7 separate regions of the Homo sapiens genome follow, and regions 2, 3, 4, 5, 6 and 7 are each linked to region 1. The links are contacts of gene promoters, found by promoter capture Hi-C in blood cells and fetal thymus (Javierre and others, 2016). All regions are on one chromosome and are shown on one strand. The core of a region is centred on a gene start or on the middle of the fragment in contact, and the rest is flanking DNA. Distances in the headings are between cores, read along the strand shown. Region 1 holds the start of RMND1 (required for meiotic nuclear division 1 homolog). Region 2 overlaps MTHFD1L (methylenetetrahydrofolate dehydrogenase (NADP+ dependent) 1 like). Region 3 overlaps MTHFD1L (methylenetetrahydrofolate dehydrogenase (NADP+ dependent) 1 like). Region 4 overlaps SYNE1 (spectrin repeat containing nuclear envelope protein 1). Region 5 overlaps LOC124901431 (a long non-coding RNA gene). Region 6 overlaps MTHFD1L (methylenetetrahydrofolate dehydrogenase (NADP+ dependent) 1 like). Region 7 overlaps SYNE1 (spectrin repeat containing nuclear envelope protein 1).

Region 1 (2,700 bases), core at 39-2,538:
GTCACTTGAATTTTCCCAGGCAGTAGGTATAGTAAGTCCTTTTTTGAGATTTTACTTTAATTGGAAAGTATTACTGTTTTCCTAACTACTACATTTCCTGCACCTCTGGAACAAAGTCTCTGGCCAGGACTGGAGTGAGGCCAGAAGCCCTAGGGCGCAAAATTGAAGGAGATACTCTCTATACTTGCATGACCTGAAACAGTGACTGCCTCAATTTGGGGCCATTGGCGCCACTTTGTTGGCCTCAACCTACTTTCTGCCCAGGTTTATTTTCTTCAAAGTGTTCTCGTCTTTTGCAATATTTTGAAGTAAGGACAAATTTCAAATATAAATTTGGCCATTCGATTTATGCAAATGGATGTTATTTGCACGGTCACCCACAACTTTACCCAAGAATCAGTAGCGTGACGACTATAAAGCAAAAAACTAGACAGTTCTTACTGTGAGATTACGATTTGATCAACAACAGGGAGAAACCCGTTTCTTAATAGCGCTGAGATCCCCAACTCTTACGCAGAATTTTAACGCCCCCAAAGCGCGTCTATTAAAGTGAATAAATAAAAAGTGACCGCCAGGAACAGACCGCGAAGCTGACCCCTGTCCTGATCCTTACGAGCAGCCGCCGCGGGCAGGCTCCCTCCCCGGGGCCGCCTCCCTTCGCCTCCGAGCCAGTCCGCGAAACCCGCAAAGGCGCCCCGGAAAGCCGCGCCCGGCGGCGGGACTCGAACGCAGCCCACCGGGGAGCGGGCGCCCTCCGCTTAGTCCCCACAGGCTCCCGGCGAGGCCCGGCTTTCCGCAAAAGTGGGGAGGAGAAAAGCTAGACTAACCCCACGTCCTGTCCTGAGAGAGACGCCGGGACGACAGCCATCACTTTCCGCGATCCCGGCCGCAAAGCTCGGCTGTTCAATCGCCGCAGAAACAGAGGCGGTACCGCCGCGAAGGAGGAGCTGAGAATGGGGGTGGTGTGGCTTTAAAAAAAAAGTGCTTTTGAATAAAGAAACTTTATTTGGTGCCCGATCAAACGGCAAACAGTGGCTCGCCAGAAGACCCAATCTTCCGGGGACGAAGGCGGGGCCAGCGGAGGGCGACTAGAGGAGCGGATATGGAAGCGAGCGAAAGCCGGAAGCAGGCAAGGGACCGGGAGGTCCCAGGGCCTAGGGAGCGGAAGAGGTCGCGGCGACGCGGCTCACGTGGTCAGACAGTCACGTGGCCCGAGTTTCTCCCGCTAAGTGGGACCAGAGTTCAGTGCGGCTGCGCAGTAGCGGGGGTGGGCGGGAGCGCCCTTCCAGGAGATGGGTTGGCTGCAGTAGTGAGAGGCTGGGGGTGCGGCTCTTTCCCTGCAGTCCTGCCGAGGAAGCGTGCGTCCCTGGCGCTTCCTTCTTCTCTTCCGGCGGAGAGGTTAGTGTATTGCCTTTTCTTTAGCAGCTCGAGTGGTCCGGCTTGGAGGTCTGCGCCCTGGCTCCTGGCCGCCCGGAACGTGTACAGTTACGGGTTACGCCAGTGCGGCTGTGACCCTTTGCCTCTTACCGTGATCTTTGGTCAGCTTAGCTGGGAGTAAAAAGCACTCAATTAATGAACCCTTTTTTTGAGCCAGTGCACCGCGGTAACTGTAGAAATCGATAAAATAATTTTGAGTTTGAGGAATTGAACGGCATACTCCCAAAGATGAGCGCCACTTAGCTCTCGAATCGTAGCCTAGCTGTAATCGATTTTCTTAATTGGTGTAATTGTTCTCTAAAAGTTGAAATGTGCCCGGGAACTGAGTAACTGCCTTGTATTTCATTTTAAAAATTCGATCGAATGCCTACTATGTGCTGGGCGCTATTGTCAGGAGATATAATAGGAAAAAACACAAATCCGTATCCTCAGGGAGCTTCCATTCTGGAAGGAAGACACAAAAATCTGCCCTTTCCTCTTATTTTTTTCCTTTAGCTTTGTGTCTCACGTATTTTACTGATTTACCTCGTTTTGTCTGTCACTCCCAATGCAAGGTTCAAAAGATTCAAAAGATAGGATTTTTGTCTATTTTATTTTCAGCTGTATTGTCAGCAACTAGGACAATACCTGGCACATGATAAGAACTGAGTTCGTTTGCAGTATGAATTAATAAACTAAAAATTAAAGGTGTGCAAGTGATGTTAAACAATGGAGAAATGCAAAGTGGAGGAAGATAAGAGAATGGATGCTGGTTGTGTTTTTTTTTTTTTTTTTTTTTATTGATCATTCTTGGGTGTTTCTCGCAGAGGGGGATTTGGCAGGGTCATAGGACAATAGTGGAGGGAAGGTCAGCAGATAAACAAGTGCACAAAGGTCTCTGGTTTTCCTAGGCAGAGGACCCTGCGGCCTTCCGCAGTGTTTGTGTCCCTGGGTACTTGAGATTAGGGAGTGGTGATGACTCTTAACCAGCACGCTGCCTTCAAGCATCTGTTTAACAAAGCACATCTTGCACCGCCCTTAATCCATTCAACTCTGAGTGGACACAGCACATGTTTCAGAGAGCACAGGGTTGGGGGTAAGGTCACCGATTAGCAGGATCCCAAGGCAGAAGAATTTTTCTTAGTATGGAACAAAATGAAAAGTCTCCCATGTCTACTTCTTTCTACACAGACACGGCAACCATCCGATTTCTCAATCTTTTCCCCCCCTTTCCCCCCTTTCTATTACACAAAACCGCCATTGTCATCCCGTCCCGTTCTCAAT
Region 2 (2,700 bases), core at 32-2,531, 550 kb after region 1:
TATGAGAATCTGAGGTATGAGATCTGTATATATTTCAAAATCCAGAATGGGTAAAAAAAAAAAGATATTTTCTAAAGAATTGTGGTTTATATCACTTGAGACCTATGAAAACTGTTTCTATGTCCTTCAAATGTTACCAACACAGTTCAGAAAACCAAGTTAAATTCCTCATGAGGGTCAGCTGAATAAAAAAGAAAGAAAACAATGTTCAAAATGATGAACATTACTTTAAAAAATTAACAGGTAGGTTCTTTGTCCAGCAAGGATGTGCTTCTGAAATTACAATAACTAAAGACATTGGCATTCTCAACTAGTGCCTGAGTGATGGCCAGTCAATGGTCAGACACAGAGAACAGAGCAGGGTCTGGAGGGCAGGGAGGGGGCTCTACCACACTGAGGTGGTCCCTTGCTTGATTTTCACTCTCAATGAACTGGGACACACTGTAGTTTATGTAGTTTATGTGCGCCCAGTTAAGTGGCTTTATGGGTTACATTATGCTCCACGGCAGATTCTTCACAAGGCTTTATTTAATTAATTTATTTATTTTTGGAGACGGGGTCTCACTCTGTCCTCTAGGCTGGAATGCAGTGGCACTGCAGTCTCAGCTCACTGCAGCCCTGACTTCTGGGCTTAAGCGATCCTCCTACCTCAGCCTCTAAGTAGCTGGGACTATAGATGTGCTTCACCATGCTCAGTTCATTTTGTTTTTTAAATATTTTTTGTAGAGACAGGGTTTCACCATGTTGCCCAGGCTGGTCTTGAATTCCTGGGCTCAAGTGATCTGCCCGCCTGGGCCTTCCAAAGTGTTGGGATTACAGGCGTGAGCCACTGTGCCACATGCTTTATGATCAGACAGGGCATGTCCATGAAAATCTTAGGTAGTAAGGGGACTCCTAGACTACCTTGTGGCAAAGTTTCTATAAAGAGTTAGATGTCACTTTTCTAAGAAAAACATCACTTTTCTCAGATGTCAAAATGTGTGCACTTTTTCTTTTCTTTTCTTTTTTTTTTTTGAGACGAGTCTCACTCTGTCGTCCAGGCTGGAGTGCAGTGGCGCGATCCCGGCTCACTGCAAGCTCCGCCTCCTGGGTTCATGCCATTCTCCTGCCTCAGCCTCCCGAGTAGCTGGGACTACAGGCACCTGCCACCATGCCCGGCTAATTTTTTGTATTTTCAGTAGAGACAGGGTTTCACCATGTTATCCAGGATGGTCTCGATCTCCTGACCTCGTGATCTGCCCGCCTCAGCCTCCCAAAGAGCTGGGATTACAGGCGTGAGCCACCGCGCCCGGCCGCACTTTTTCTTAATATAGAAAAGAAGCTGTCAGGTTGGGCTACAGTATGTGGCTCACACAGTCAGATGTGTTTTAGGAAGATTCCTCTGGAAGCTGGATTGAGAATGCCTTAGAAGGGGTAGGAGGAAAAGCAAGATACTGAGATCTCCTGGAGGAGGCGTCTGCAGGAAGCTGGGGGCCCGGGTCTGGAACTGAGAATGGCCTGGGAGCATGCGGATGCGGGTCGGGACACACAGCATTTAGGTGATGGTTAAAACCAGAAGTGTGGATTCCCCAGGGGAAACTGGCAGAATGGGAAGGAAAGCAGGTTAACAGACATCCTTGGGGAGCACTAATCTTAAATGGTTAGAGATAACGAACAGATGATGGAGACCACCATGTCCTGGTGGCTCAGGAGCTACGAAGGGCAGGAAGGGGCATTTTCATTCAGGCTAAGGGAAAAGGGTGTGGCCAACAGGTTTATATGACAGCTGTGGTCAAGCAAGATAAAAGCAAAAAATACACTTTTGGCAATTAGGAACTACCGGTGACTCACTTTTGGCAATTAGGAACTACTGGTGACTTTGCTACAGAAATGGGCATTAGGAACCATGCCTAATACAGTCCTGCCATTACTGTAGACTGTGTTGCCTGCAAATGGAGATTTCATTCAGGCAGACTGTTTCATAAGCAGATGCCTTGTTTATTCATTTATATATATAAAAATATAAATATATAATATATAATATAATATAAAAAATATATATATATCTATTTTTTTTTGAGATGGAATCTCACTCTGTGGCCCAGGCTGGAGTGCAGTGGTGCAATCTCAGCTCGCTGCAACCTCTGCCTCCTGGGTTCAACGATTCTCCTGTCTCAGCCTCCTGAGTAGCTAGGATTACAGGCGCATGCCACCACACCCAGCTAATTTTTGTATTTTTAGTAGAGATGGAGTTTCCCCATGTTGGTCAGGCTGGTCTCACACTCCTGACCTCATGATCCGCCTGCCTCGGCCTCCCAAAGTGCTGGGATTACAGGCGTGAGCCACTGCACCCAGCCTATGCATTAATTTTTTTTAACTCTGAATGTCTAACTTTGTATTTGAAATTAAATGAACATTGATCATAAGAGTATTGCTTTGTAGCTATGAATCTGTATCTACCTTTCCCCTGCAGTATTAAAACATATCATTAAATAGGAATGTTAAAATAATAGTATAACTACTCTAAACTAAGAACATCAAACCATCTTCATTCAGATGTTGTCGTACTTTGGCAAGATAAGGGGATGACAATTGCAGCAAAAGGTATTTTACCCACTTCACGTCCACCCAGTGATCTCATCCTGGGAGAATTTTTTTCCTTTCAGGAATTGGGTGTGTTTCTTTTATTTCTACTCTCATCTGTGATTAGTAGAACAAATT
Region 3 (2,700 bases), core at 40-2,539, 530 kb after region 1:
TATTTCTACAATGAAACTACATTCTTTTTATAACCAGAAAAAGAAATAAAGAAAAAAGCACTTACATTAATAATTAAATACGTAAAAACAAAGTTACCTAGGAGTCAATTCCAATTACAAGAAATGTCTCTGCCTGACAAATAGGTTTTGTGCCTGAAGCTTTGTATACATCATAAGCAATAGTCACTGAAATGAAATTTCAAGGCAGCAAAGGAATTTATATGGTCTCATGATGTTCCCTCAGGTCACACTGAATAAATATTTGAAATCCCTTGCTTTCTATCATCTTTTCAGCTAGTGAATGTACTTCTTTTTTTAAAAAGAAGGGGAAAAAGGCAAACACTCCTTTTCACAAAAACTATGAATTTGTCTTTTATAAAATAACCAACACAAATGAAAATGGCCCAACATTAGTTTTGAAATGCAGAAAAAGGGAAATAATGAGCTTTTGAAATGTGAATATGTAGGTAAGATCAAGGATATTAACAGGAAAACATGTTTCATATGATTATCTGTACCTTTTCCACGAAAATATTTCAAGTAGAACGCACAAAACAAACTGCTCAGTTCAAAATAGTTTACTTTCAATTCCTATTTTGATTTTTATAATGAAAAATGAAATTCAAAAAGTCAAGGAGGAGCAGGGGTAATAACAACATAATATGAGAAACAAAAGATAAAGCACTGCAACTTGTTTGACTTTATCTTGTGTAGAGTCGACTAGTTTGCTCTGCACTGAAAATAAAAACTTATCTCACACCAAATAAAGAAATGCCAAATGAAATGGACGAAATGTCAAATGTGAGAATAGGATGGATTGAGGGGTACGAGGAGAGAGATAAATAGGGAAGAGTTTTGTAAATATGTCTGCTTGATCAAGTAGATGTTAGATGGTGTCTTACCCAGCAACTAAGACGTATTTTCCATCTGCTTGATCCTTTAACCTTTCTAGCACGGACAAACGTACTTTGGCTTTGCTTTTGCCATAGATTTCAATTTCATCTGCAAGCAATCCAATCTCCTTGGCAAGGACATCCACAGCTTTTGGAGTTTGTCCTCTTGAAATCTCAATGTCACTGAGGGGAAAGACAATACGAAAGAGAGAAAAGGCTTCTCAGCTTAGGTGGTCACAACTGGAGTGAAAACAGCCACACATCACGCCAACGATGAAATCAATGCAATTACTTTGGGGTCCTTTCTCCCAGGCAGTAATAAGCACAACTGCTAATAATTAACGTGTATGAGAAAATGGTGTATCATTTTAGAAATGCAACTCCAAAAAACTCACAAAGATCCTAGAATTGTGTCCAGGTGGAAGTATAACACCTATGGCATAGAGACAAGAACAGCATATTATAATGTGTCCAAAACCCTCCTGCAAGTGTGATTCGACTACAGAGCAAAATGCTCTGTATGGGCCATCATGGTATTCATTAGCGATGAATAGAGGGTCATTGCATAATAATCTCCGATCGGGCTGGCCACATGTTTCTCTTGGCTATTCAAAAATGTGAACATTACTATCACATTAGAGATTAAGTACAAAAAAAAAGAAAAAATGTGGAAATGCTATTTCGTTTTATCTGTGTCCACACTTCCCCCTCTCTATTTACAGTCTAAAATCATATTTCAAAATGTTTTATTAATTACATAACTGTCGGTAAAAGGACCTAGTGCCCTGAGCCCAAGTTCAGACAGGAAATTGTAGGAACTCCAGAGAGTCATTGGGCACGTAACTGAACTCTTCTATTTTACTGGCCACCACTGCTCGTCTTACAGGAGTGGTCTGGATACCAGCATGTGTAATGCTGGACTCTTTCCTCTGGGGCTCATGTGCTCAGTCATTTCTTTGCTGGGCAGTCAGGCCCTTCATGTGTCTGAGAGTGAGAGATGGAAGGCACACCTGTTCCCCCAGCAGCAAGACTAACCCCGGGAGACCACGCGGCGGGGGACTACCCTTAAAGGTTGCATCAGAGAGGACAGCTATTCCTTCACTCACCCCAGAACACTTATTTTTGTTGTGGTCTGCCTCCTTGCGGTGGGCAGATCAACCCCCTCAGTGGACTTTAGTCAGCCCCTTGGCCCTGACTGTTTCTGTAGCTACTGCAGGTAATCTACCCTCAGTGTTCAGACCACCCTAGACTCTCCTCCAGGATCCTGTAGGGGCCTGACCCGGGGGTAAGAGGCAACAGCAAACACACCTCCACCCAGACTTCTCCAAAGGGCACCAGAGAAACTAGGAGTTCAGGTTACCCCCCTCAAGTACCGCTGAGTATTCCTTTCCAGGCCTCCACCTATCCGACCTTTCCTTTCTAGCCTCCTACTTTGTTTTGCCTTCCTGGCCATAGTTTTTTTCTGTCTCTCTCTTCCCACAATCTCCTAAATTGAAGAGCTTAATCTTGAACAATGTGTAAGCTTTTGGCAGGCTGCAGAGGCTCACGCCTGTAATCCCAGCACTTTGGGAGGCCAAGGCGGGAGGATCACTTGAGTCCATGAGTTTGAGACCAGCCTGGCCAACATAGCAAAATCCCGTCTCTACTAAAAATACAAACAAATTAGCCAGGTGTGGTGGTGGCACCTGTAGTCCCAGCTACTCGGGAGGCCGAGGCAGGACAATCACTTGAACCTGGGAGGCGGAGGTTGAGGTGAGCTGAGATTGCACCACTGCACTCCAGCCTGGGCAACAGAATAAGACTGTCT
Region 4 (2,710 bases), core at 129-2,628, 710 kb before region 1:
CAGCAGCTTGATAAGAACATGAGCAGCCTGAGGACCTGGCTCGCTCACATCGAGTCAGAGCTGGCCAAGCCAATAGTCTACGATTCCTGTAACTCGGAAGAAATACAGAGAAAGCTTAATGAGCAGCAGGTAAGACTTAAAATGGAAATGGAATTAATAAGCCATGGAATATCTGTCCTCCTGGCCAGGATGATGGGGTGGGCATGAGATGGTGCCTGGAGATGGAAGGTCAGCAGGGAGCTAGGCAGGACTGGTGAGGAAGGGGGCTTTGCCTAGGCAGGCGATTGAGGCCAACAGGTTCCATGTCACTGCAGAGTTCAGCCTTACAAAGATGGTTGTGCCATTGTACAGTTAGTGTCATCCATCCACCAAGAAGCCTTCTAAGATGGTAGGTAAGGTGGAGTTGCAATTACGTATCTAAAACAGTGCTAACAGATTGGTTTATTTATTTGAGAGTCACTAGCCCTAGCCCACTACCATACACTTAGACAGGACTGAAAGGAGCCCCCCTGCCCCCGACTTTTTTTCCTGTGTATAGTGTTTGGGGAAAGATTACAAGGCATACTTAGAATTTTTCAAGTTGAAAAAATTTTGTTTTGCAAAAAGGATTGCATGACCTGCAGATCGCACACAGTAATTCCACTTTCATGTGTGTAGCAAAGACAGAATATCTCACTGGCGGCGTACAACCCAACAAAGCAAAAAGGGATGATCCTGGAAAATGTATACAGAAGAAATTTTCACCTCCCATTCCCTCCCTCATTTATTCTTTCTTTTTTTTTTTTTTTTTCCTGAGACAGAGTCTCACTCTGTTGCCCAGGCTGGAGTGTAGTAGTGCGATCTCAGCTCACTGCAACCTCCACTTCCCAGGTTTAAGCGATTCTCCTGCCTCAGCCTCCCAAGTAGCTGAGATTACAGGCATGCACCACCATGCCTGGCTAATTTTTGTATTGTTAATAGAGACGGAGTTTCGCCATGATGGCCAAGCTGGTCTCAAACTCCTGACCTCAAGTGATCTGCCCACCCTCGGCCTCACAAAGTGCTGGGATTACAGGCGTGAGCCACTGTGCCAGGCCCCCTCATTTATCCTTGCTAAGTATATCGGACTCCAGTTGCCAATAGCAAACACTGTAAATCCCCCGCTAGAGGTATTGTTACTCCATGCATTTAGGTTGCTTTGAATATTCTATCCACACTCTGGTTCTCTCCATTACATTTAGGCCATTGCAGCAAAGTTGCTTAATTTTAAAATGCTATAAAATGTAAATACCTCCTATTTTTAAAATCTTATAGTTTATGTACTTACTTCATTTTACAGACTATTTAAGCCAATGAAATAGGTGTCAAAATACAGTTTTGGGTGTTGAGGTTTTTTTAATATTAAAATTATCATTAAAATTTTTTTCTTTCTAATGAATATATAGTAATTGTACATATGTGTGGGGTACAACGTGGTGCTTCAATGCATATTTTCATAGTGTAATAATCAAACAAACTGAGGTAATTTGATTACCATATCTATCACTTTAAACATTTATCATTTCTTACAATACTCAAAATCTTCTCTTCTAGCTATCTTGAAACATACACTATATTCCATTGCTTTAAAAAAACTGTTAGCAAGACGTTTTTCAATTTTTATGAAATTAAAGTTTTCTGATGGGTGGTGATGTTTGAGATTCTGATGATTGAATTGTAGGGATCCTGGTTGGCATCCGGCTTCCCAGATTCTTCCAGAGAACATGGTAATGATGTCTATAGTGATGAGTTGAAATGCAAATGGCGGGTATCGTAATTTCACAAGTGTATGAAAATCAACAAAATATCTAGTTAAATATGGCAAATTGATCATATGTATTTATAGCCCCACCTACTACTAAAACCCCAATAAAATGATGGTAGAGAGGGAAAAAGGTTAAAACCACAATGGCAAAGAGAACAGGAGAGAAAATGGTAGAGATGACAGACATCCAACATAATTTTGCAAGATAGAAAGTGGATAGATCAGTGATGTTGTTAACAGAATGGAGGGTGGAGAAAGTTGATTCATGCCACAGAGTTCGAAGAAGGCTCAGAAAGTGGAGATCAGGTGAAGCTGAAAGTTGAGTTGCCTATTGAGCTGTAAAATGGAAGATTACTTGAAAATCTGAATAAGGTGTGCTGAGACTGGCAGATTCCTCCTAAGCCCAGCCAGCCAGGGAACTCTGCTTCCTTTACTCAGGTAGAAGATCAGATGATTACTCTCTGGAGAAAGCAAACCAGAGGGACTCTGGGTTTGGGGATCAGGACACCGTGGAGGCTAGAGTCACTATGTTAAAAATGGGGAGATGATGTGACTGGCTCAATACCAAATGCTAGGGCTCCCAGCCCGCTTCCCCAGCTTGGCTCCCACTATGTCAGTACCCAGGCTTACACCCTAGCCAGGAGATTGGAGCATCCTTTCTGGAGAACTGATCAGACAAGCAAAAAGTACCTTCAATTAGTGATACTTAAGGTAACCCAGAAAAGGCCAGACCCCTGCCTAACTCTCCACAGGGAAGCCTCCCAGTTGACATACTTTAGGTGCATACACAGCTTCTATAGCTGACTCATTCTTGAATATGTGTGGGTAGGCAAGAATCCTCACCACTTAAGAAAGCTTCTACCATTAAGAAAAAAAAATAAATAGAGGGAAATAAAGAAAGGAACAATCAGAGGAAACACATTGTAG
Region 5 (2,700 bases), core at 105-2,604, 590 kb after region 1:
TTGATACAATCATCAAAGCTGCAAGCAGCATATTCTCTGGAGTTTGTGTCACCTTTGTGAATGTACTTAATGCCACTGAACTGTATATTTAAAAATGGTTAAGATGGTAAATTTTATGTGCATTTTACCACCATCTTAAAAGTCAAGAAGGAGGTGAAGAAACAGCTCAAATTGGTGATCTAAGTTTGCTAGAGTCAATTACTATCATTTACAACAAAGCACTCTGTTGTGTACAGTGGTTAAAGTGAATGCAGGTGAAGGTCACTGGCCATGAGCAAGTCAAGAAAATAAAGGGCTGGATGTTGAGAAGGTCATCCATCGAAATATCCATCAAATAGGGATTTTCTAGATATTTTCAAGGTGGTGGTAGTATATAGGGGTGGAGAGTATAGGATGATAAGGAGACTGATTCTGAGGTGTGGGCTCACCTTCACTGAATGAGGCCAATTGGTAAGAAGGTCAATGGATGATAGGAGTCAGGTGACACAAAGATTTGCATTCCAGGCTGGGCACAGTGGCTCATGCCTGTAATCCCAGCACTTTGGGAGGCTGAGGAGGGCGAATCACCTGAGGTCAGAAGTTAGAAACCAGCCTGACCAACATGGTGGAACACCGTCTCTACTAACAATTCAAAAATTAGCTGGGCATCGTGGCATCTGCCTGTAATCCCAGCTACTGGGGAGACTGAGGCAGGAGATTCACTTGAACCTGGGAGACAGAGGTTGCAGTGAGTCGAGATTGCGCCATTGCACTCCAGCCTGGACAACAAGAGCGAAACTCCATCTAAAAAAAAAAAAAAAAAATTGCATTCCAAATAGCCACCATGCAATAGTTCATTCATTCATGAGGGCAGAGAAGGAATGGTCTCCAGCCACAGCATGGATCCATGAAGCACTGACTCCACCTCTCGAACTTGAGGTGTTGGATTGTGGGAGAATGAATAGCCTTCCTTTAAGAGATCCCCAGGAGAAACATCCTTAAGGAAGAGCTAAGTGTTAGTTTAAAAAAGAAATGAATTGGCCGGGCGCGGTGGCTCACGCCTGTAACCCCAGTACTTTGGGAGGCCGAGGTGGGCGGATCACAAGGTCAGACTGAGATCATCCTGGCCAACGTGGTGAAACCTCGTCTCTACTAAAAATACAAAAATTAGCTGGGCGTGGTGGCACGAGCCTGTAATCCCAGCTACTCGGGAGGCTGAGGCAGGAGAATTGCTTGAACCAGGGAGTTGGAGGTTGCAGTCAGCCAAGATCACACCACTGAATTCCAGCCTGGCGACAGCGAAACTCCATCTCAAAAAAAAAAAAAAAAAGAATGGAGGGAACTGCTTCCATTAAAATATAGGGAATGTAGAGGAGTTCAACATGGAACTTAAAGTGACCCAGAGCACGCAGACAGAAGATGTGGGAAGAACAGCAGCAGTGAGAAGGTGGGTCAGGAGGGAGACTAACCAGGAAGGATGGTCAGAGGAGCAGCAACCCGGGGTAACAGCTTGAAGCCTGGTGGTTTATGTGGCTCCCAAAATGCCAAAGAGACAGACCCAGCAAATACTGGAAGGCTACAAATGTAGACAGGACACTTGGATAAAACAAGGGTCAACACAGTTTGCACTTCTATGGGAGTTTGTTCCATGAAAGGGCTGTATTTACACAGCAACCCCCAAATGCAGAAGGAGCCTGGAAACCAAAGGAGGCAGAGAAATCCAATGTGTGGTTCTGGGTGATTTATTAGGGAAATTTACAAACAGAAACGTGGTCTTGGGCGGCTACAAGATAGGTAGATCTCTGCACCACAACCCCCTAGACCCAGGGCTTATATCTTGGGGAAAAATATACGTGTTCTAGAAGGAATGTGTAGGTGGCTACCAGCGTCACAGCCTATGATTTCTGCAACAGCAACGAGGGTTGTTTTGAAGGAAACTTACAGTAAATGGGTGTTTCTACATAAATAATAATACATCAACTCAACATTTTGGAGGCATTCCCAGACTTGGGATTAGTCAGTGGATTGGTATTTAAAGTAAATTCACTCTTGTCCCCACCAAGAGTTTTCCTCTTCAATGAATGAGGAGGCTTTGTGTAGAAAGCAAAAGTTCCTCTTCAAATCCCTTTAAATCATAAATGTTATTGATATCTTTTCTCAAAACTAACTTTAAGTTTCTTATTTTATAGTAATAACTCTCTGTTAAGCCTTATGTAGCAAAGGTAACAGAATAAGCATACTCTGACTTCAGTATCTGTTAAACATGCTCACAGGCATGTAGTACATTCTATGTCCTTGTACCTTAGTCAGAATATTCGTGCTGGACATGCCCAGGCATGTCCCAGCTTGCAGCCTACCCTCCTCCCTTATTTGGGAATATTATTACTTTTCTAAGTCCTTTCATAAGCAACTTCCTTTTTTTCCTTTGTTCCTCACTGCCTTTACCTATTTTAAAAAGTTTTGAACTGTTAGCCAATCGGGTTTTAGTTTAGATTGTGAGGTCTGGCTCCAGCCAATGGAGTCAGGACACAGCAATAGGGACCTCATGTGTAAGGCAAAACTATTCTAGTATCTTTTTTACTTTGTGGGTACTCCTGGCAGGATTGCTGACAGGCACCACCCTTTCTGCAAAGAGTAAAAAGAGTTTCCTGTTGAGGAAACATTTTGTCTAATTGCGGATTCTTCTCTGTAACATCGGGGAATAAGCATTTACTTCCAACA
Region 6 (2,700 bases), core at 59-2,558, 570 kb after region 1:
TAGAAAAGATCTTGAAAGCTATCACCACAAAGAAATGATAAACGTTCTAGGTGATGAATGTAACTAACCTGATTTGATCATTACACAACATATGCAAGTACCGAAACACCACACTGTACCCCACACACATGCACAATTATTATGTGTCAATTATAAACAACAACGACGAAAATCAAGGGCTATTAATACCAGTGTCAAGGCCAGGTGAGGTGGCTCATACCTGTAATCCCAGCGCTTTGGGAGGCCAGGGAGGGCAGATCACCTGAGGTCAGGAGTTCGAGAACGGCCTGGCTAACATGGTGAAACCCCGTCTCTACAAAAATGCAAAAATTAGCTGGGCATAATGGCGGGTGCCTGTAAACCCAGTTACTTGGGAGGCTGAGCAGGGAGAATCACTTGAACATGGGAGGTGGAAGTTGCAGTGAGAGGAGATTGCGCCATTGGACTCTAGCCTGGGTGACAGAGTGAGACTCCGTCTCAGAAAAAAAAAAAAAAAAAAAAACACCAGTGGCAAAACAACCTAAAGAAAAGCAAATTCCAGCTGGGCGCAGTGGCTCACACCTGTAATCCTAGCACTTTGGGAGGCAGAGGCAGGCCATCACCTGAGGTCAGGAGTTCAAGACCAGCCTGGTCAACATGATGAAACCCTGTCTCTACTAAAAACACAAAAAATTAGCCAGGCATGGTGGCGGGCGCCTGTAATCCCAGCTACTTGGGAGGCTGAGGCAGGAGAATGACTTGAACCCGGGAGGTAGAGGTTGCAGTGAGCCAAGATTGCACCACCGCACTCCAGCCTGACAGAGCGAGACTCCATCTCAAAAAAAAAGAAAGAAAAGCAAATTCTGCTGCAGACAGTGGGTATCGTGCAAATGAACAACAACTTCCTTTGCATGCTGTCACTGCTGGTATCATAGGTATTTGTTACATATTTAACACTTCATATTTGTACCACGCTACAATGGCAAGTGTGGCAAACACTTATCGCCCAGTATATAGTTTCCTTTCTCTTCTTAGTAATAAACTCTTGGTTTTTAGCTTGCTAATAAATGATCTAAGGCTTCCTGGTATAAAAACTACACTTCCCAGCCTCCTTTGCAGTTGGCCAGGCAACTAAGTAGGGGACAACGGGATGGATGTAGAACTGTGACTTTCAGGAAATGTCTTTAAAGACAGCAGGGGCCTGTCTTTGTCCTTCCTTTTTCTTCTTGGTGACAACGAACTTTACCTGAGCCCTGTGATCCTGGAAAAGAGGGAAGGTTAACAAATCCCTGCAGCCTCTGTGTACTGCAAAGAACTGCTCTTCTCCATAGGACTCAAATAAGACTCACCAATGCCCCCTTGTTTACATAGCACAAGGCCAGATACAAACTCTACAAATTCCCATTCTTTGTCTCACAAATGACTAGCAGACCTGCTGGGCCTCACTGATCAATCAGAACAAAGTGCTTGTTAACCAAACCACAAAGGCGGCAGAGCAGAGGGACAGGAGCCTGAGCTCCTGCGACTTGGTGATATCACCAACCAGGGACTGCCTACTTCCAAACTTTATTCATGTCCCAGAAAAATACACTTCTAGGCCGGGCACAGTAGCTCACACTTGTAATCCCAGCACTTTGGGAGGCCAAGGAGGGTGGATCACTTGAGGTCAGGAGTTCAAGACCAGCCTGGCCAAAATGGTGAAACCCCATCTCTACTAAAGATACAAAAATTAGCCAGGCGTGGTGGCACGCACCTGTAATCTCAGCTACTCAGGAGGCTGAGGCAGGAGAATTGCTTGAACCTGGGAGGCGGAGGTTGCAGTGAGCCGAGATGGCACCATTGCACTCCAGCCTGGGCAACAAAAGTAAAATTCCATCTCAAAAAAAAAAAGAGAGAGAGAGAGAAATAAACTTGTACATTATTTAAGATTCCATTATTTGAGGTTTTCTGTCACATGAAGCCAGTAGGAAGAAAAGCTAACCACAGAAGGGCCGGGCCCTGGCACAGGGATCTGTGGTCCAAGGTCCAGTTTCCTCGCCTCGGCCTGACAATTTCCACTAGATGACGCTGCCACCGCAGCTGAAGAAACACAACCGAACTCAACAAGTCGCAACTCAAGTCTTCAGTAGAAACATACAAATGACAAGAAACAAGGATATCATGAAGCATTTACCCTAGAGAAAAGAAGTGAAGTCTTCCCTCTAACATTCAGTCACAAGCAAATCTTAGATCTGTCCCAGCCACCACTAAGAGACGCCAATGGGCCTATTAAGTCTCAAGAGGAAAGAAGAAGCAAGAGTTTAGAGCTCTGCCATTATTACCTCGGCTTCACTGCTATCTGGAGGGAGGCAAATGTGAGTGATGTTCAGACCAGCCTGAAAAAGGAACACAAGGTTATTCGTCACTATAAGAGAATGTATTGTTAAAAGTTATAGTGAATTTTTTAAAAGCAGCAGTCCTCACCTCCTCAGCCAAATTCTGGTTGATTTCCTGCATCAAGTTGTCGTCACCTGCCTTAGGAAGGTAAAAACAACATAACAACATAAAAATAGCTTGAAAAGGCACAAAAGATAATCCAGAGATGAATTTTGTGATTACAGATGATCTAATTACAAAGATAATATGGAAGGTGCAGAAAAACAATCTTGCTGCTTATAAAAAGGGACTTGGGGCCAGTATTTAACAGAGTAATTCCTCAGGCCTTCAAATTATGTCACTTTT
Region 7 (2,700 bases), core at 196-2,695, 690 kb before region 1:
TATTTTGTCTTTACAGTAAGGCCTATTAGTCAGGCATATGGCATCTGAAGCAGAGCTGTCCAAAACCAGCCACTGGCCAGTTGGGACTGTTGAGCTCTGAGATGGGACTGTGCAAATTGAGATGGGTTGTGCGTGGAAAACATGCTTACATGAATTTCAAAGACTTAGTACAAGAAAGAAAATAAAATATTAATAATTATATTGATTACATGTTATAATCCCTGTCTAATGTAGTGTTAAAATTAATTTTATAAGTTTCTTTTTACATTTCTAATGTGGCTATGAAACCTTTAAGATTACATATATAGTTCACATAGAAATATATGGGACAGCGCTGCTCTGGAGTCTGGGCTGAAATCTCAGTTCTGCCATGTACTTTCTGTTTAAACTTAGATAAGGAACCTAATTCCTCTGTGCCTCAGTTTTCTCATCTATAAAATGGGAATAACATTCCCAGGTACCCTATAGGGTTTCTATGTGATAAATTTGTGCTCAGACCAGAGCCTGGCTCATAAAAACACTCTCAGTCACTGTGAGTTCTTTTTTTTTTTTTTTTTTTTTTTTTTGAGACGAAGTCTAGTTCTGTTGCCCAGGCTGGAGTGCAGTGGCACAATCTCGGCTCACTGCAACCTCCACCTCCCGGGTTCAAGCGATCCTCCTGCCTCAGACTCCCATGTAGCTGGGATTACAGGTACCTGTCACCACACCTGGCTAATTTTTGTATTTTTAGTAGAGATGGGGTTCCACCATGTCGGCCAGGCTGGTCTCGAATTCCTGACCTCAGGTGATCCACCCGCCTTGGCCTCCCAAAGTGCTGGGATTACAGGCGTGAGCCACCATGCCCCACCCACTGTGAATTCTTATGATTCATTTCAGGAAAGCTTTGGTGAGCCTGCACGCTCCTCTGTGCGCTCAGGAGCTATGTGTCTAGAATAACTGACTTCCTTTTTTTCCCCTAGGAAAGTTATTTTCCTGCACAAGGGATTCAGGGTTTCCAGAACTTAGCTGTCAACTTAGACTGTGCTTTTTTTGCAGATGTAATGATCCCCGAAAGCCCTGAGGCCTATGTAAAACTCACAGAAAATGCAATCAAAAATACCTCCGGTAGGCACAACAAGCCGGAGCCAGCCTCCCTCCCTCCCCTGTATAGCAATCCTCCTCTCTTAGCACATCTGCTGTCTCTCTCCCAGCTTTGTGGCTCTAGCATGTTAAGGCACAGCCTTCCTCTCTTACTGCTGTACTAGAAAAAACAGCTGGTTAAATCCACACCAAGAATAAGATTTCACTAATTGAGCGAAATAAAGTAACTTCTCAACTTGTTAAATGGTGATTGGTCTCATTAGGTATAGACCTCTCATGTCCATTAACTGCAGAAAATATGAGAAGGAAAACCCAGTCATCAGCCTCTGCGCCCTAGTGTTCTACGTGGTGTGGTAATTTCAGCTTCACTGCATGCAGACCTACCTGTGGCTGGAGACTCAGGGTGCAGGCTCTGGTCCCAAGTCCGCCAGCCTGCATGAGTGACCTTTGGCCCATCCACCACTTTATCCTCCTCATCTCAAGAATCCCGTATGAGACAAGGGGTGAGATCAGATTTCAGCTCTAAAAAATATATGTAATTTTAATTTAAGAGGTCGTAAAAGATAATTTGAAATGAAAAATGTATTTCACGGTATGCTGAGCCATAGATAAGAACAGAACTATTCCTGAAACAAGAAGAATTAAAGAAAGAAAAATGGAACTAGTTTTGCTTAGTGTTGTGTTAGACAAACTGTAGTGCAGGAGTTCAGGATCAGTGATGTGGGATGTCGGCGGGGAATAGAGTTTGAACGCAGTGATATGATATTGAATCACGGAGTTACTAGTTTACGCTTCAGTTTTTGAAGAAAATCAAAAGGACAGAAAGCAAAGTAACATTACTGAGAGGGTGATTCCCAGGGAGGGACCTCTCCTAGGTGTATCTAGAAGGCCTTTTTTAGAAACAAATAAAAACATTTAATAAAGCTTACTAATATTTGTTCTGCTTTCACCCCATGCTAGCTTCACTGATGATCAAATGTTCCTGTGTAGTTCGAAGACTTTGACACACACACACACACACACACACACTCTCAGTAATTTTACAAAGAAATGTTACAACTTTGAGAGGAGAATGAGCCAGAATTCTAGGCTATGAGTAAGAACCTGCCTAGATGGAAATGTTAAAATCTTAGCTTTCTCCTGGTTTTGTTTCAGATCTTAGATAAAAAGCAAGTCGTTGCTAGTTTGATATCTCTGTATATATCTATTCTGAGGCACTCTTTTCTTGATTAATGAATTTATGCCTTCAGTAAATGATGCAGCAACCTGAGCCTTCCGTGACACTATCTTCCCCTGAGGTGCATGAAGAAAAATCAGAGGGAGGATCTTCCCCTGCTCACTAAGCGATAGCAGAAAGAACATGAGAAAAAGAACAGCTTTCTCCTTACTGAGATGCAGTAGACACCATTGCAGATTTTTAGAAAGGCCTTCCACACTGACAACATTCAGATGATCAGGGGTTCAGCTGGAAGAGGGTCAGGTGCACGAAGCTGTTCAAAACGGACTGGAGAGCCGTTTTGCGACGTCCGATCTGCTAGGGCTCTCAGTCAAGCACCTTCATTGGTTTGGCCATTTTAATGTCTAACCCACCGGCACGATGGTACTAAATTTGCTTTGTAA

What was found. The method cuts DNA at HindIII sites, captures the fragments that hold promoters and counts their contacts. A CHiCAGO score of 5 or more calls a contact.
Region 2: a fragment that was not itself captured here is called in contact with the fragment with the promoter of RMND1 in region 1 in 1 of 17 cell types (total B cells); the score reaches 6.0 in total B cells.
Region 3: a fragment that was not itself captured here is called in contact with the fragment with the promoter of RMND1 in region 1 in 1 of 17 cell types (total B cells); the score reaches 6.5 in total B cells.
Region 4: a contact is called between a fragment that was not itself captured here and the fragment with the promoter of RMND1 in region 1, in 6 of 17 cell types (total CD4 T cells, naive CD4 T cells, activated CD4 T cells and 3 more). The highest score is 8.6, in total CD4 T cells.
Region 5: a contact is called between a fragment that was not itself captured here and the fragment with the promoter of RMND1 in region 1, in 1 of 17 cell types (fetal thymus). The highest score is 7.3, in fetal thymus.
Region 6: a fragment that was not itself captured here is called in contact with the fragment with the promoter of RMND1 in region 1 in 1 of 17 cell types (activated CD4 T cells); the score reaches 7.3 in activated CD4 T cells.
Region 7: a fragment that was not itself captured here is called in contact with the fragment with the promoter of RMND1 in region 1 in 1 of 17 cell types (naive CD4 T cells); the score reaches 5.1 in naive CD4 T cells.

Annotation. Positions count from the first base shown.
Region 1 is chr6:151,450,714-151,453,413 of GRCh38, reverse strand. It overlaps RMND1 (required for meiotic nuclear division 1 homolog), which reads left to right and starts at 1,288. Exons shown (of 12, transcript NM_017909.4): 1 at 1,288-1,398. It overlaps DCPH1 (damage control phosphatase 1), which reads right to left and starts at 948. Exons shown (of 5, transcript NM_024573.3): 1 at 828-948. The coding sequence starts at 868. RefSeq lists a silencer at 591-710 and enhancers at 871-1,320, 1,511-1,560. The HindIII fragment of the contact is 8,083 bases long and covers 1-2,700 here.
Region 2 is chr6:150,899,328-150,902,027 of GRCh38, reverse strand. All of the region lies in intron 7 of MTHFD1L (methylenetetrahydrofolate dehydrogenase (NADP+ dependent) 1 like), which reads right to left. Among named protein-coding and RNA genes, the nearest start is that of MTHFD1L, 35 kb to the right of the region's middle. The HindIII fragment of the contact is 3,392 bases long and covers 1-2,700 here.
Region 3 is chr6:150,924,498-150,927,197 of GRCh38, reverse strand. MTHFD1L (methylenetetrahydrofolate dehydrogenase (NADP+ dependent) 1 like) reads right to left here. Exons shown (of 28, transcript NM_015440.5): 11 at 903-1,076. Among named protein-coding and RNA genes, the nearest start is that of MTHFD1L, 60 kb to the right of the region's middle. The HindIII fragment of the contact is 2,256 bases long and covers 162-2,417 here.
Region 4 is chr6:152,161,582-152,164,291 of GRCh38, reverse strand. SYNE1 (spectrin repeat containing nuclear envelope protein 1) reads left to right here. Exons shown (of 146, transcript NM_182961.4): 131 at 1-129. Among named protein-coding and RNA genes, the nearest start is that of SYNE1-AS1, 220 kb to the left of the region's middle. The HindIII fragment of the contact is 2,524 bases long and covers 117-2,640 here.
Region 5 is chr6:150,856,968-150,859,667 of GRCh38, reverse strand. It overlaps LOC124901431 (a long non-coding RNA gene), which reads right to left. Exons shown (of 2, transcript XR_007059812.1): 2 at 1,706-2,700. Among named protein-coding and RNA genes, the nearest start is that of MTHFD1L, 7.4 kb to the left of the region's middle. RefSeq lists an enhancer at 1,930-2,700. The HindIII fragment of the contact is 4,238 bases long and covers 1-2,700 here.
Region 6 is chr6:150,877,427-150,880,126 of GRCh38, reverse strand. It overlaps MTHFD1L (methylenetetrahydrofolate dehydrogenase (NADP+ dependent) 1 like), which reads right to left. Exons shown (of 28, transcript NM_015440.5): 3 at 2,443-2,493; 4 at 2,301-2,354. Among named protein-coding and RNA genes, the nearest start is that of MTHFD1L, 13 kb to the right of the region's middle. The HindIII fragment of the contact is 6,066 bases long and covers 1-2,700 here.
Region 7 is chr6:152,143,891-152,146,590 of GRCh38, reverse strand. The region is part of intron 137 of SYNE1 (spectrin repeat containing nuclear envelope protein 1); the gene reads left to right. Among named protein-coding and RNA genes, the nearest start is that of SYNE1-AS1, 240 kb to the left of the region's middle. The HindIII fragment of the contact is 1,123 bases long and covers 884-2,006 here.